2 separate regions of the Homo sapiens genome follow, and region 1 is linked to region 2. Evidence: promoter capture Hi-C in human tissues and cell types (Jung and others, 2019). All regions are on one chromosome and are shown on one strand. The core of a region is centred on a gene start or on the middle of the fragment in contact, and the rest is flanking DNA. Distances in the headings are between cores, read along the strand shown.

Region 1 (5,153 bases), core at 1,279-3,778, 120 kb after region 2:
GCAAGCTAAGAGGAAATAGGCAAGTGACAGAAAGTGGTATGGTAGAAAGACGGAGAGGTTTGCAGTCAGCAAAGCTGGATGCTTGCTCCCAGGATGTCACTAGCTAAATGTCAGAGCTTGGCCCATCTATACTTCAATTTTCTCATCTTTCAAATGGGATAATGGGATATTCAAATGGGATAATCTAACAACTTTAAGGAATTCCTGAAAGGATAAAATGAGATAGCAGATAATGAAGTGTCTGAAAACTCAAAGAGGACAAAACTATTAAGGCTTTAGTGTGTGTGTGTGTGTGTGTGTGTGTGTGTGTGTGTGTTTGGGGAAAGGGAATGACATTAAATGAAAGTAGTAAATACCATAAAGGAAGCCTTGACAAAAATCATGTCTCTGGAGAGGATTCCACCAAACCAAGTGCCCCTTCCACAGGGAGCTCTTCTGCATGCACTGACAGCTTTCTGTCAGGTGGCCTGCCAACCTGGCCTCCAGATGCAGGAACTAGAAACCATGTCTGGCCAAAGGCAGCCATTAATACAGGCTAGCTAGGAGTGAGGCCAGTGGTGTGGGAATGTTGCCCTGCAGAGTTCTTGAAATTGGTACAATTCTTGTAGCATTCTGTACAAAGACTCAGACACACACAGCAGTAGAGGTAGTAGCACTGTCATCAGAGGGAAGAGACATCTGCCTTAGTGCTGCTGGGGGCTGGATGTTGAGACTTTTGTGAGTCCTCACTACCTGGCAGGGCCTTTTAATAAATCCCAATTACCAGAGGGATCCAGGCTGGTAGAAGATATGTTGATGCGAATATATTTTAGGAATTTTTCTCTCTTTGTTTTAGTAAATAAAATGGCTTCACTACAATTGATATGTTGGCCCAACAATTTTAAGTAGATGGTAGAGTATTCCAAGATGTTAATCCTGATCCAGTGACACATTAGTTTTTACAAAATTTTTATCATAATGTATTTTCACCAGAAGTATTAATCTTTTAAAATAAATTGATAAAAGGCTACATATCATCTTAGTAATATGCATTCTTTGCTATTGAAGTCTTACAAATATAAGTTATTTAGTAATTGCTCCTTGTGGGAGTGAAGAGGAGAAATAGAACATACAGTACACTGTTGTAGCTTACTTGGCATTTCCAACTTCATTCACGTGAAAGCCTTTTTTTCCCCTTATGTAAATTCAGTTCTTGAAATCTCTAGCCTCAGCCTAAATTTCAAACCACCCAGTCAGTTTATTAAAATCAAACCAAAACAAAAAAAAAAGACAAGAAGATTTGAGTATTTTATCAGCAATCTTAGAACCAAGAAGTTCTAAGAGGGACAGATTACTTGAGATTTGGATGCCTACATGACCTGAGTTTAACACAATACACCACAGCTAAATGGGGCTGCAGTAGCATTCCTCAAAGCATGCTTGGTAGCCACATTCTTCTTAGACCAGTTCCTGTTCCCTGGACAATACCATATCATCTTCCCAGGAGTCAATATTCTAGTTTTGCTTCAAAAATGCTCAGAAGTGCCGGGTGCAGTGGCTCATGCCTGTAATCCCAGCACTTTGGGAGGCTGAGGCGGGCAGATCACGAGGTCAGGAGATCGAGACCATCTTGGCCAATATGGTGAAACTCTGTCTCTATAAAAATACAAAAATTAGCTGAGCGTGGTGACGCATGCCTGTAATCCCAGCTACTCGGGAGGCTGAGGCAGGAGAATCCCTTGAACCATGGAGTCGGAAGTTGCAGTGAGCCGAGATTGCGCCACTGCACTCCAGCCTGGCAACAAAAAAAAAAAAAAAAAAAAAAGAAAGAAAGAATAAAAAATGTAACAGGTGGCTGGGTGCGGTGGCTCACGCCTGTAATCCCAGCACTTTGGGAGGCCCAGGTGGGCAGATCACGAGGTCAGGAGTTCGAGACCTGCCTGGCTAATGTGGTGAAACCCCGTCTCTACTAAAAAATACAAAAATTAGATGGGCCTGGTGGCGTGCGCCTGTAATCCCAGCTTCTCAGGAAGCTGAGGCAGATTAGCTTCAACCTGGGAGGCAGAGGTTGCAGTGAGCTGAGATCGCACCATTGCACTCCAGCCTGGGACAGAGCAAGACTCCATCTCAAAGGAAAAAAAAAATGCTCAGAAAGGGGCTGGGTGCAGTGGTACATGCCTGTAACCCCAGTACTTTGGGAGGCTGAGGTGGGAGGACTGCTCGAGGCCAGGGATTTGAGACCAGCCTGGGAGACACAGGGAGACCCCACCTGTACAAATAAAAATAAAAATTAAAAAATTAGTTGGGCATGGTGGCATGTGCTTGTAGTACTAGTTACTCTGGAGGCTAAGATGGGAGGATCACTTGAGCCCAGGAATTCAAGGTTACAGTGAGCTATGATATCACTGCTACGCTCCAGCCTGGGTGACAAAGCAAGACTATCTCTAAAAGAGAAAGCTTTTGACATATTAGAAGGAACTAACTTCTTTGTTATTTATTGAGTATCTTTATGACCACATGAAACACCTTCTGCAAAATCTTTTCTTGAGTGGGTGGATGAGAGGAAAGATTAAAAATTTTAAAAACATGTCACTGATCAGTAGAAAGACCTAAGCTTTCTGATGAAATGGATACACTGGGTTCTAGAGAGAATTATTTTAAAAATAAGACCTATATTTGGACAGATCCTAGTAAAATTTCTGAATTCTAGGATAGAAAAACTGTGATAAGTTTCCAAAAAAAAAAAGTTGTTATAATGGAAAGCATATAGATTTGAGATTTATCCTAGGCCATGAGTATTAGAGTGGGCTTATGGAGTCAGAGAGCCAGGGGTTTAACCACGGATTTGTCAGTAATTTGGGGCTTGTTTCTTATCTTTTCTATGTCTCGGTTTCCTCATCTGATAAGACAGAATAATACTAGTAACTATTTCATAAAGTTTTAAGGGAATTAAATGACTCAACACACGAAAAGCACTTAAAGCACTTAGAACAGTACCTGGGCACATACTGTGTACTTGAGAAATGTTAGTTTTCATTATTAACTAAAATGCAACAATAAAAGATAATGGAATCACTGTCTGTATCTCCATTAAAAGACAGTCAGGTAGACTTCTGACTCCAGAAAGATGGCATAGACATACATTTCCCTATTTATCCAGCTAAATATAACTAAAAACCATGGACATTAAGTTGGACAGAAGGTAGCACACTAACTAGGGACCTGGGGACCCAAGGAACCACATGTTAACGAGTTCTCTGGGCTTTGTTTTTGTCTCCTATATCCCAGACTTAGAGCTGGCAAAGTTGGCAAACAAGAATGTCAACAGGTGAAGACAAAAAAAAAAAAAAGCCCTAATGAACGTGTTCTCTCTAGCCAAAGGATGACAAAAGGAGTAGTTAACAAGACTGAAAGCTTTTAAACAAGAATTGCCCTACTTCAGCTAAACAACCCAGAAAAAACTATGGCCACACCCCTATAGACATGCCAGCAAAGGCTGAAGGCAGAGCCTAGATTTTCACTCTTGCCAGGATGTAACGAGATGCCCCCCAGCCATCTTGCTGGGATAGTGTTAGAAAAGGCCAAGTAGGAAGCTGAAATCTGTTTTTTTTTTTTTTTTGAGATGGCGTCTTGCTCTGTCACCAGGCTGGAGTGCAGTGGTGTGATCTTGGCTCACTGCAACCTCCGCCTTCCAGGTTCAAGCGATTGTCCTGCCTCAGCCTCCCGAGTAGCTGGGACTACAGGCGCCCACCACCATGCCCAGCTAATTTTTGTATTTTTAGTAGAGACAGAGTTTCACCATGTTGGCCAGCTGGAATTTTTACACAACATGGTGAAAATGAGGCTCCACCTCAGTGATATCAGTAGAGACTACATGTGGACCCTGACTTCTACCCCTATCCAGCAGTAACAAAGTGACTATACTCCTCCTCAATGGGGTGATGACAGAGGAGGATCTCGTGAAGAATCGGGATTTTACCACCACCAAGTGGCAACAAGCACTCCTACCTTTTCCAGCCAAAGAGGTATCAGTGAAAGCCTAGTTGAGAGCTGGAACTCCCATTCCTGCCCCGTCCCCGCCCCCCATGTCAATAAAGGCTAAATAGGGAACCTGGACTTCTACCTTTACCTGGCATTAATGAAGCAGCATTACAACCCACCGTTTCACTGTCAGAGTGCTGTCAAAGGAAGCCAGTTAACACATCAGGTTTAAAAAAAATCCAGAGTCTCATAACATAATACACAAAATGTCCAGGTTTCAACTAAAAATTACTCATCGTACCAAGACTAGGAAGATCACAAATCAAATGAGAAATGATAATTAACAGATGCTAATGTCAATGACAAAAATGTTAAAATTATCTGACAAAGATTTTAAAGTAGCCGTCATCAAATTGTTTAAGCAAGCATTTATGAACATGCTTGAAACAAGTGAAAACACTGAAATTCTCAGCAAAGAAACAGAAGATATAAAGAGGAACAAAATGGAAATTATAGAACTGAAAAACACAATAATTGAAATAAAAAAACTAAAACTAAGCGATGGGCTCAACAGCAGAATGGAGAAGAAAGGGGAAAGCATAAGTGAACTAGGGCCAGGCACGGTGACTCACACCTGTAATCCCAGCACTTTGGGAGGCCAAGGTGGATGGATCTCTTCAGGTCAGGAGTTCGAGACAAGCCTGGCAAACATGGTGAAACCCTGTCTCTACTAAAAATACAAAAATTATCCAGGCATGGTGGTGGGCACCTGTAATCCCAGCTACTCGGCAAGCTGAGGAATCTGTACATAAGTGTACAGATTTAAGAAGCTGAACAAACTCCAAAGAGAATAAACCCAAAGAAATCTACAACAAGACACATCGTAGTCAAACTTCTGAAAACTAAAACAACAACAACAAAATCTTTTTTTTTCTTTGCAGAGGTAATTGAGTTAAAACAACACTAAAAAATCTTGAAAGCAACTAAGGAGATACCATTGGGGGAAATAATATGAAAGACACAGATTTCTCATCAGAAACAATGGAGGCCAAAAGGAAGGAACACATTTTTCAAGTGCTGAAAGAAAAGAGCCATCAACCCAAAATCCTACATCCAGCAAAAATACCCTTCAGGAATGAAACAGGAAATCAAGACAGCCTCACATGAAGGAAAACAACGGGAATTTATTGCTA
Region 2 (4,767 bases), core at 1,173-3,672:
TCAGGATCCAACCCAGGTTCCCATATTGCATTCAGTTGTCATGTCACTTTGGTGTCCTTTTCTCTGGAGCAGTCTCTCAGTCTCCTTGTTTTTCCTGACCTTGAAATTTTTGAAGAGTTATTCTGCAGAGCAGTGCTATCCAATAGAACTTTCAGTGATGATAGAAATGCTCTGTTTGGGCCTGACGCTGTGGCTCACACCTGTAATCCCAGAACTTTGGGAGGCTGAGGCAGGCAGATCACCTGAGGTCGGGAGTTTGAGACCAACCTGGCCAAGGTGGAGAAACCCCGTGTCTACTAAAAATGCAAAATTAGCTGGGCATGGTGGTGCATGCCTATAATCCCAGCTACTCGGGAGGCTGAGGCAGGAGAATCGCTTGAACCTGGGAGGCAGAGGTTGTGGTGAGCCGAGATCACGCCATTGTACTCCAACCTCAACAACAAGAGTGAAACTCTGTCTCAAAACAAAACAAACAAAAAAAATAGAAATGCTCTGTGTCACCGAGTATGAAGCCATTAGCTACATGAAAATAGCATTTGAAATGTGGCTCATGGGCCAGGTGCAGTGGCTCACGCCTGTAATCCCAGCACTTTGGGAGGCCAAGGTGGGTGGATCACTTGAGGTCAGGAGTTTGAGACCTGCCTGGCCCATATGGTGAAACCTCGTCTCTACTAAAAATACAAAAATTGGCCGGGCGTGGTGACATGCGCCTGTAGTCCCAGCTACTCGTGAGGCTGAGGCAGGAGAATCACTTGAACCCGGGAGGCGGAGGTTGCAGTGAGCCGAGATTGGGCCACTGCACTCCAGCCTGGGTGAAAGAGTGAGATTCTGTTTCAAAAAAAAAAAAAAAAAAAAAAAAGAGAAATGTGGCTCGTGGGTCTCAGGAACTGGCTTCTAAGTATTATTTAATTTTAATTAAAATAGCTACATGTGGCTAGTAGCCATTGTATTGGATAGGACAGCTGTCAAATGTCTCTCGTTTTGGGTTTGCTTACTGTTTCCCTATGATTAGTTTCAGATCATGAGCTTTTGATAGGAATACCATAAGCATGTTGTTGTGTTCTTCTTTGTCTAAATCTTTATAAAAGCTGTTGATAGGTGGCAGGGAACCACCTAGTCAGGCAGTGGGATTGTTTGAATGCTCTTTGAGGTCCAGCAAAGACAGGAGTGATAGCTGCACTTGGAAGCCCGCTCCTACACTTTCAATGTTCTTCCTGAAAGAATTAGATATGAAGCTGCTAGAGCTGCTCCGGTGGGGAGCAGGCAGGATTGATTCTTGAACTAATCAACATTTATGCCCTCTTGGCTAAACTAGGCAGAGCTGGTTTTATTACAGTTCAGGTGTGATTAAGCATACTTTGTAAATGCTGAAGGTTGTGAAATATTCACAGGGATATAAAGTACAGTAATAAAACCTCACTTGAGGCTGGGCGTAGTGGCTCACGCCTGTAATCCCAGCACTTTGGGAGGCCGAGGTGGGAGGATCACCTGAGGTCAGGAGTTTGAGACCAGCCTGGCCAACATGGTGAAACTCCGTCTCTACTAAAAATACAAAAATTAGCCGGGCGCAGTGGCATGTGCCTGTAATCTCAGCTACTTGGGAGGCTGAGGCAGGAGAATTGCTTGAACCCAGGAGGTGGAGGTTGCAGTGAGCCGAGATCGCGCCATTGTACTCCAGCCTGGGCGACAGAGCATGACTCTGTCTCAAAAAAAAAAAAAAAAAAAAAGAATAGAAGACCCTGTGCCTGGAAGATCGTAGGTGCTCAGTAAGTGCTGGCCTCTGCCCCAGAAGGGGAAGGGCGAGGCAGATGGCAGGAACTGCGGGAGGTACCTGTCCCAGGCCCTTGGGCGTAAGAGGCCTCTCCCACGCAGCACCCAACCCATACCCAGCCTGCCCGCCAGCCAACCTTGGCGTCCCTGCCTTGCGCCTACCTACCCAGCAGTCCCCCGCCCGCTCCCACTCCCACAGGCCCAGCGTGCACGTCTCCAGGATAGGCATCCTTGCCCCTGTGACTTCAGCGGCACCCAACGTTTATTGGGCACTAACTGTATGCCAGGCCATGGGGGTGCCGGAGAGAACGACACGAAGACCCTCACCCCTCAAAGTTCCCAGGGGGAGGAGGGGCTGCTTCACTTGGGAAGCGTGGGGATGGAATTCTCAGCCCCCCGATGACTCCGAGGCCGGCCACCTGCCTGGTTTCTGGCCGGACACCGGACTTCCCCTGGAAGTTGCTCGAGACTGCGCGCCCCCAGCAAAAAATCAGGTCGGTTCTCCGAGCCCAGTCTAGCGCTTCCCGACCCGCAAACCAAGGCCCAGTGACCGTCCCCGCTGCGCAGCCGCCTGCGTCGCCAGCCAACCACGCGCGGCCGAGTAGCCCCGCCCCTCCACATGGCCAATGGCCGCGCGCTCTGCCCGCCCCGCCTCCTCGCTGCGGGAAGGGTCCTGGGCCCCGGGCGGCGGTCGCCAGGTCTCAGGGCCGGGGGTACCCGAGGTAAGATCGCTTCCCGGGCGTTGGGTCCTTTCGGCTCAGCACGCACGGACGCCTTTAGGGAAGGTGGCTGCAGCGGCAGGACGGAGTCCGCCGGGACGCCCTGGGTCTGGGGTGCGCGGGGGGCCCAGGAGGGGACAGGACGCGCGGGGATCCGGAAGAGCGGGCCCTGTCGCAAGAGTTTCGGGAACACTGAGGGCTCCAGGCGCCGCATCCAGCATCCGGGGAAAAGGGGGTAGGTGGCGCTGGGCGTCTGCTCAGGCTGGGGGAAAGGTAGGGCCAGAAGGGGACGGGCAGCGGCCGCTGACCTCCTCCTGCCGCCCGCGGGCCCAGGGTGACGCTAAGGTGGGGCCGAGCCTCGACCGGGTGCGCCTAGAGGTCGAGTGCTGCCGCCCTCCGCTGGGTCTGGACAGTTCTCGGCGGCGACACCAGCTCAAAACGGCCTCCCCGCCCTCCGCGGACCTGGGTCGCGCCCAGGAATCCGATCCAAGGCTGTGAGGCCTGTCCCTTTGGGAAGGGTGGGTGTTTATTTCCGGGATGCACTCAGAGCCTCTGGACAGTCAGGTCGGAAACTTTGCTGTATTGGGAACACTCTGTCACCTACTTCCTTCTCAGTTGGGAAGGAAGTGCCAAGAAAACATGAAACAAACCAAAAACACGAAAAAGGGATTCTCTGTATGGAAGCCGTGAAGCCTCAAAAATATCTAGGAGGACAGCCAGCGACCTGGGACCTGTGGCAGCCATGTGAAAGCAGGGTTAATGTCTGGACTAAATGTTGCTTCCACCTAAGTGCACCCTCAGCCTCCCTCCCGCCAAGTGACCTTGGGTCCTCTTTGGGCTTGAAGGCAGGTGGCTGTGTGGGTCTCGCTGCAGGGGTCTCTGTGCCCTGCAAGGTGTATGACCAGTTGCAGTGAGGCAGCAGGTTTTGGGTTCAAATCCTGTGCTAGCCTCTGGCCAGCTGTGCACCTTGGCAACACTTTCCCTGTCACGGGATTGGGGAAGGATTAACTGAAAGAACCTTAGGATGTGCCTGTCTACAATGGGCCCTCCATAAATGTGAACAAATGTGGGCTTCCTTTCCTTTTGTTTGGGCCACATCATCCCTTCCCCTCCATCTGTGGCTGAAGCTGGAATGCAGAAGAGTGCCTCATCTGACTGCCTTCTGGTACCTGGCTGATGCCATGAGAAAGGAAGGAGAAAGGGGTCTTTTTTTTTTTGAAATGGAGTCTCACTCTCTTGCCCAGGCTGGAGCGCAGTGGTCCAATCTTGGCTCACTGCAACCTCTGCCTCCTGGGTCTAGAGATTCTCCTGCCTCAGCCTCCTGAGTAGCTGGGACTACAGGTGTGTGCCACCATGCCTGGCTAATTTTTGCATTTTTAGTAGAGACGGGGTTTCACCATGTTGGCCAGGCTGGTCTCAAACTCCTGACCTCAAGTGATCTGCCTGCCTCGGCCTCCCAAAGTGCTGGGATTCCAGGCGTGAGCCACCGCGCCCGGCCGAGAAAGGGATCTATTAACTCCCATAGAGTTGTTCTTTGCTAATTTCTTGAAGGCTCAGAGGACCCCCGCCTCACCTTCCTGATTCTCCTGACCTGTCATTAGTACTTGCCCCACGAGGAATGTAGCAGGGCCTGCTGGCTGGCAAAGCAACTCATGCATGTGAGGCTCTGAGGCCAGTGACAGGACTGCTTCCCCTGTGAGGAAGGTCTGGTGGCCCAACAGCTTTTAGGTGCTGTCTGCTCTACAGCACTGCCTCCTGAGAGAGGTCTCATGCCTGCCTGATGCCCACTTGGTCCTCTCCTGCCTCCTTCCCTCCCTGACAACCCACTTGGAATCCAATAGCATCTCAAACTTCACTTGTTCCGAACTGAGTTCTGGAGTCCCTTCTGAGCCACTGCTCCTCCCCTGGCTTCTCTGGCCTGGTAAAAGGGCACCTTCCATCCACCCAGTGCCCAAGGAGTCATGCTTCTTTTCTCTCCCTTATCTCCTACACCCTCAAAACACCAGGAATCTGGCTGCCTCCTGCCATCTCTGTGGTTCCCATCCTGACCATAGTCATCCTGTCTCCTGGGCTGTGGCCTCCTTACTGGTCTCCCAGTTTTCATCCTGGCCCCTCCAAAGTCCTCACAACCACCAGAGAAGTCTTTAATGTAAATCAGATCCTCTTCTTTCCCTGCCGGAACCTTCCAGTGGTTCCCTGTTTCACTCCAACTAAAACCCAGAGTCCTTTCCTACAGCACTCTACATGAGTGGCCCCTGCCACCTCCTTGACCTTGACA

Evidence for each region. Contacts are between HindIII fragments. The study calls those that stand out against the background at their distance.
Region 1: a fragment that was not itself captured here is called in contact with the fragment with the promoter of MAVS in region 2 in 2 of the 25 tissues and cell types used here (IMR-90 fibroblasts and bladder).

What each region holds. Positions count from the first base shown.
Region 1 is chr20:3,966,192-3,971,344 of GRCh38, forward strand. The region is part of intron 1 of RNF24 (ring finger protein 24); the gene reads right to left. Among named protein-coding and RNA genes, the nearest start is that of RNF24, 47 kb to the right of the region's middle. The HindIII fragment of the contact is 3,961 bases long and covers 549-4,509 here.
Region 2 is chr20:3,844,412-3,849,178 of GRCh38, forward strand. It overlaps MAVS (mitochondrial antiviral signaling protein), which reads left to right and starts at 2,423. Exons shown (of 7, transcript NM_020746.5): 1 at 2,423-2,492. RefSeq lists an enhancer at 339-478 and silencers at 1,840-1,889, 2,320-2,699. The HindIII fragment of the contact is 19,994 bases long and covers 1-4,767 here.